2 separate regions of the Homo sapiens genome follow, and region 1 is linked to region 2. Evidence: promoter capture Hi-C in 16 types of primary human blood cells and fetal thymus (Javierre and others, 2016). All regions are on one chromosome and are shown on one strand. The core of a region is centred on a gene start or on the middle of the fragment in contact, and the rest is flanking DNA. Distances in the headings are between cores, read along the strand shown. Region 1 overlaps TRAF2 (TNF receptor associated factor 2). Region 2 holds the start of RABL6 (RAB, member RAS oncogene family like 6).

Evidence for each region. The method cuts DNA at HindIII sites, captures the fragments that hold promoters and counts their contacts. A CHiCAGO score of 5 or more calls a contact.
Region 1: a contact is called between a fragment that was not itself captured here and the fragment with the promoter of RABL6 in region 2, in 5 of 17 cell types (endothelial precursors, M2 macrophages, activated CD4 T cells and 2 more). The highest score is 8.9, in endothelial precursors.

What each region holds. Positions count from the first base shown.
Region 1 is chr9:136,925,161-136,928,001 of GRCh38, reverse strand. TRAF2 (TNF receptor associated factor 2) reads right to left here. Exons shown (of 11, transcript NM_021138.4): 11 at 1,395-2,319. The coding sequence ends at 2,101. Among named protein-coding and RNA genes, the nearest start is that of FBXW5, 18 kb to the left of the region's middle. The HindIII fragment of the contact is 2,628 bases long and covers 1-2,600 here.
Region 2 is chr9:136,806,698-136,809,397 of GRCh38, reverse strand. RABL6 (RAB, member RAS oncogene family like 6) reads right to left here and starts at 1,450. Exons shown (of 15, transcript NM_024718.5): 1 at 1,072-1,450. The coding sequence starts at 1,201. It overlaps CCDC183 (coiled-coil domain containing 183), which reads right to left. Exons shown (of 14, transcript NM_001039374.5): 12 at 2,531-2,641; 13 at 2,332-2,428; 14 at 1,657-1,826. The coding sequence ends at 1,708. It overlaps CCDC183-AS1 (CCDC183 antisense RNA 1), which reads left to right and starts at 550. Exons shown (of 5, transcript NR_024580.1): 1 at 550-671; 2 at 2,196-2,569. It also overlaps the pseudogene LOC100422233. RefSeq lists silencers at 639-1,168, 1,179-1,308, 1,329-1,388, 1,439-1,608, 1,809-2,038 and enhancers at 1,314-1,910, 1,911-2,506. The HindIII fragment of the contact is 3,360 bases long and covers 332-2,700 here.

The DNA.
Region 1 (2,841 bases), core at 37-2,536, 120 kb before region 2:
GTTCAAAGACACAACCGAGAATCCGTAATCAGGAATATCAGGAACTCCTACCAACCAGCAGAATAAGACCCAGACCAACAACCAGAAGAAAAATGAGAAAAAGACATCAACAGGCAATTCGCACGGGAGAGAATCCAAGGGAGAGGTAAGCGTGGTAAAGACGCCTGACTCCGCCGAGTCATCAGAGAAACGCACGTGACAGCGATGCCACTTCACTTCACACACAGCACGCTGCAGCATCTCAATTCCAACAACACGAAGCACGGGCAGGGATGGGAGGGATGGGAGTGATGGGAACCCTCCCCCTGGTGCTGGTGGAAGGACCGGATGCAGCCCCTCTGCAAAGCAAGCTGGCAACTGCTAAAAAGGGGAGGCCTAGAAACCACCAACCCTCCTTCCAGGTTGACAGGAGACCCACGAGAGCAGGTCTGGCTATCTCCAGTCACCAAACCCTGAAGACACGGGAAGAGACTGGAAGGTGCTCTCTAGGGAACTCACACACGGCAGTCAGAATCCACCATGTAGAGTGCCCAGCACAAGATGCATTAAAAGTAGCCAGGCTGAGTCAAAAGCCCAGCTACCTGCAGCTGACCCAGTGGATGGTTTCTGCATTTTTAATGCAATATTCTTATTTGTGAATACAGAAACGTACAGATGCAAAATTCTAAAGCCCAAAGAGAACCGGAACGCCTCAATTCCCGCCACGTGGCCTGGGGAGCTGAGGTGAGGCCGGGAAAGGGAACAGCAGGGCTCTGCAATGCTTGCTCTTTAGGCCCAGTACACACTCACGGAACACAGACAATGCCCGTCGGTCAGCTCCGTGCCTGAGTTATTTTCTGTACTTTTCTGTGGTCAACTTCTCAAACTACAGCAGTGCGTGAAGACGTCGAGAGGGGACAGCACTTTATCCTGGACCCCGATACAGATGCCCAGTAGGTCCCAGCACGGCTGCCCTGACACCGAGTGTGAAGCCGTGCCTACGCCTGCCTGCACTGTCCCAAAAACACACCACAGGGGCGGTGCAGCCAGGACCCTCGGTGTGGCCAGGACCCCCCGGGTGCAGCCAGGATGCTCGGTGGAGCCTGTGCACAGAAAGGCAGGACCAGGGCTGGCTCATCCTCATTCTGCTCTCACAGGAGTCCCTGGGGAGGCCCAGGAGAGGAGATGGACAGGGAAGAACATTCCAGAAGAGGGAACAAGGCTCGAGAAGAGGGAGCTTACATCAGGTGAGGAACAGAGAACACAGCCTGGCTAGCTAGAGAAGCAGGCAGGGGCTAGGCACCCCGTGGGGAGGGGTCTGTGAGAGGAGAGGCCAGGAGGACCCGCAGAGGGTCACCACTGCCAAGGCTGGAAGCCGCAGGCAACCTGGAATCAAATGGATGCCACTGACCACAGAGATTTGAATGGTTTAATAACTCTGTCTTCGTGAGCTGGATGGCAAGCTCTCACACTTTACCCGCAGGCTGTGCTGTGCACCTCCCACACAGTGGTCTGAGCAGAGGCGGCGTGGGACCAGACCCTCTCCCACAGCCAGCCTGGCCAAGGTGGCACAGACCAGAGCTCTGTGCAGACAAGCACCCAGGGGTCTAGGAATGCTCCCTTCTCTCCAGGGGCCAGAGGGGAGAACCAAGCTGCTCAGCCTTCCTTGCTCTGGCCAGCAGGAGGCCCTTCTCCTGGAGCAGCCCTCGTTTCTGCCTGTCATGCCCGAGGGACACAAGGCCATCCACTGTGCTCCTGCTACATGGGCACTGCTGGGATGTGCTCCCACTCTGAGTGTCCCCCACCCAGGGCCTCTCCCTTCACTGCACAGGACAGCAAGGGCAGCTTGTGCTGGGAAGCACCCGAAGACCCTCGGCCAATGCCACCACAGCCCTTGGCTAAGACCGTCTGCCAAGCCCCTCCGCAGTCTCTGAAATCTGAGGACTGGCTGGTGGCTCCTTCCCCCGTGACAGTGAACTTGGCTGCAGGCCGACACCCTCCCAAGCGCCCAAGCGCGGCCCCTGCCCACTTGTACAGTGAGACCCTGGCCCAGCGTGGTGGCCCCTCCGTGAGCCGGCTGTGCCTGGCTGCCCCCAACCCCCAGACACCAGTAGGGGGCAGTTAGAGCCCTGTCAGGTCCACAATGGCCTTGATGAAGATGGCATCGTCCCGCACGTAGGAATTCTTTGCCTCCATCTTGGAGACGGGGCAGAAGAGGGGGCAGCCGCTTGCGATGTTCATGTCGTTGACTGGCCTCTGAAAAGAGGATGAAGTCACGTCGGGCCTGAAGGCGTCAATCACGTGCTCCCGGTTATTCTGGTCGAGCAGCATTAAGGTCACCTGGAGGAGAGAGCCCCAGGGAGGGGACACAGGTCTGTGGGCCGTCTCTCTCTGGCTCCCGAGGGTCTGGACACTGGCAGGGCCACCAGCAGGAGGCCATCCCAGGACCCAGGCCAGAGGCTGAGGCCCAGCCGAGACCACGTGGTGGGCGGCCTTGCTCCTGCCACAGCGCCCGGGCTCCCCAGCCCTCCCCAGCCACCGGCATTCCGCTTCTCTCTGGGGAATCTGTGTCCATTCTGGCCTTTCCTGTCCACTGACATCTGGAGTCCTAGACTAAAGCTTACCACTCCTGAACTTGAATTATTATTAGGAAAATGCAAAAAATAACACATCTGGCAAAGACATTTTCTTGCCAAAGAGATCATGAAGCACCCACTGCCCACTCGTGAAGAGCACTTTTCAGGGAGAACCTGAGTCTGCCTCTGTCAGGACTGTGAACCTGGATGCCCCAGGACAGACAAGGGCCTGTGGGCCCTCCACACCCCCTCCCCCACCCAACTCTGCTCTGCCTACTCCACTAGC
Region 2 (2,700 bases), core at 201-2,700:
TGGTCTGCAGCTTCCTCTTGCTCACAGGCCGGGGGACTAAGGAAGGCGACATCTTCACTGTCCTCCTGGACTAGCTCCAGCCCCAGGAACTACGGCCTCTCTCCGTGCACACGGCACGCGAATTCATGAACTTGCTTTTAAACCTGCACAAGAGTCTTTCTGATCATTAGTTCTTAAAATTCTACATTACCATGGAAATATCACGGAGGCTCTAAGGCTCCCCTTAAAGTGACCAAAAAACTGGATAGGCGTAGCGTCCTAAAACCTCATAGAAACATACGGAAATGGCTAAGAGGGAAGCAATGTCAAAACAGGGAACCACATAAAAGCTTTCAAAAACTACTGGGAAAGAGCCCGCAAGATGGAAAAACTCATAAGAGGTCGAGGACAATTTACACAATTTATAACAAAGGAATGGAGCGTCCCAGGCACTCAGGAGTCCGTAAATGACTCCTCCTTCCTACGAGAAATGGGATGTCTCCTACAGTCGCAAGTCAGCCCGTGCCTTCTGGAGCTTTTCTAGATACGTCTCTTACAAACGCTTCTTTTAAAAAAAAAGGCGAGAATGTGTGGCGTAGCTAATATTCTGTCTTCAAACTCAGTAGGAAGTCAACAAAGAAAAATCCCGCTGAAAGCGCCAAGGCCGGCTGGGTTCCCCGCACCTCCTGCAGGTGAGTGGTGCCCGGGGCTGGGCACCGTGGAGCGTCGGGGGCGCGGCGCCCCGGGCCGGCGGGCCCTGCTTGGCATTATGTAATCACCCCCGGGCCGGGCAGCCGGGCCAACCCCGCCGCCGCCGACCCGCTCCACTGCACAGCGCGGCGGGAGCGACACGCGGCAGGCGAGTGCGGCTGGGAAACGACCCGCGGCTCGGGGGCCGCGAGGACCCGGCCCTGGCCTGGCCTCTCCTCGCGTCCCCTGGCCCGCGCCCCCGCTCCCGGAGCGCCCGGCGGGCCCAGCGCACCCCACAACCGGCAAGCAGGTGAGACCGACACCCACCACCGCGCGGCGCCCGGGGCCTGGGTTCGGAGACCCGCGCGGCGCTCCCGCGCCCCCCCGGCCCGCCGCACTCACTGTTGTACTGCACCCCCTTGGCGAAGCGCCTCTGCAACGCCTGGTTCATGGACTGCAGCCCGGCGGGGATGTTCTTGTCCCGGCCCGGGGCCTGGTCCGACCCCACCAGCTTCTTCAGGGCGGAAAACATCTTCCCGCTCGGACGTCCCAGCCCGGGCGCGGCCGGCGAGCTCAGCGGCGGCGGGGAAGGGGTGCGACTGGCACCATGTCCCGGCGGCCCCGGCCCCCCCGGAGGCCGGAGCCGGCGCGGCCAGAGGCCGGGGTCCCGGCGGCGGAGCGCAGCCCCGAGCGGCGACTCGGGAACCTCAGCCGCGGCTGCTCCGCTCCGGCCCCCGCGGCCTCCGGCGCGACCGCTCTCCAGGAGTCAGCGCCGCCATCTTGGCGCCGGCTCGGCGGGACGGGAGGGGTGCGCGGCTACGGGGCGCCGCGAGGGCCGCGGGGGCGCGGCGCGCGCGGTCGGCGCATGCGCACGCGGTTCTGGCGCGCAGTTCCGGGCCCGGGCTGCCTCCTTACGCAGAACCTCCCCCGATCCTGCGTGTCCCGTGCTCCTCTCCGAGACCCCGGTCGCCCCAGCGTCCGCAGCAGTCCTGGAAAAATGTTTATTTGTGTAGCAAAGCAGGGAGCGGGGCGGCGGGGCTACTTCTTCTTTTTCTTGGCCGCCTTGAGCTTCCCCTCGATTAGCCGCTGCGCCTGCCTCTTGATCTCGGCGCGCGAAGGGACGTAGCTGTGGTCCATGTCGGGGAACTGGAAGGTGTCTGCGGGCGGAGGCGGCGGCTCGCACACGGGGCTAGCCCAGCTAGGCGCAGCCGCCCGACCCGCCTCTCGCCCCCGCCCTCCACCGACCCGGGCCAGGTGCCTTGCCCCAGGGACAGCCCCAGCGTGCCGGGAGGACTCAGCCCAGCCCATTCGCAGCGGCTCACGCTGCCCTGCCTAGCCTTTCCCGCAGAACCCCCAGTGGAAGCTCCGGCCCAGGCCTTCACCGCGCTCCTCCCTGCTCCAGCCCTGGTGCCTCTCCTCCGGGCCCGTCTGGCATGGCATGCCTCCTCCTTTCGGAGAAATTAACAAGGTATTTCAGTGGCTTTAGCCTCCCCATGGCATCACTAAGTCACCTCCATCAATTAAAGTCCTGCAGGTACAACTGATGCACCCTGTAGCCCCGCTGTCCCTCCAGGATGTCCCGGTGGGATGGGAGCCGGCGCCACCCCGACCTGTGTTCCAGCCACCCGCCTGCAGCCCGGGCCCCAGTTCCGGGGCCTGTACCGATCATATCCTCCTCCCGGTTCTCAAAGCTGATCCTGGTGTTGTACTTCTCCATCAGAGTCGAGGACTCCAGGGTGTCCCTCACCTTTGTGTCGCCCTGCAGGGCAAAGCCCCCTTCAGCCGTGCAGACACTCTGAACGGGAGCCTGTCAGCTTTGAGGGGACGTGGGCTGTGCAGGTTCCTCCCAGCCCGGGGCTACCTCCTCGGTCCTGGACACCATCTGCACTCTGTCAGCCAGGTACGTGAGCTTCCCCTCGCAGTACGCCAGCTTGCTGTTCAAATCGAGGGTGTTGGAGAGCACCACTTCTCTCTGTAGGCCGGGAGGAGGGTCTCATCTCCCCTCTGGCCCTGCCCAGGGACCTGGTGTGT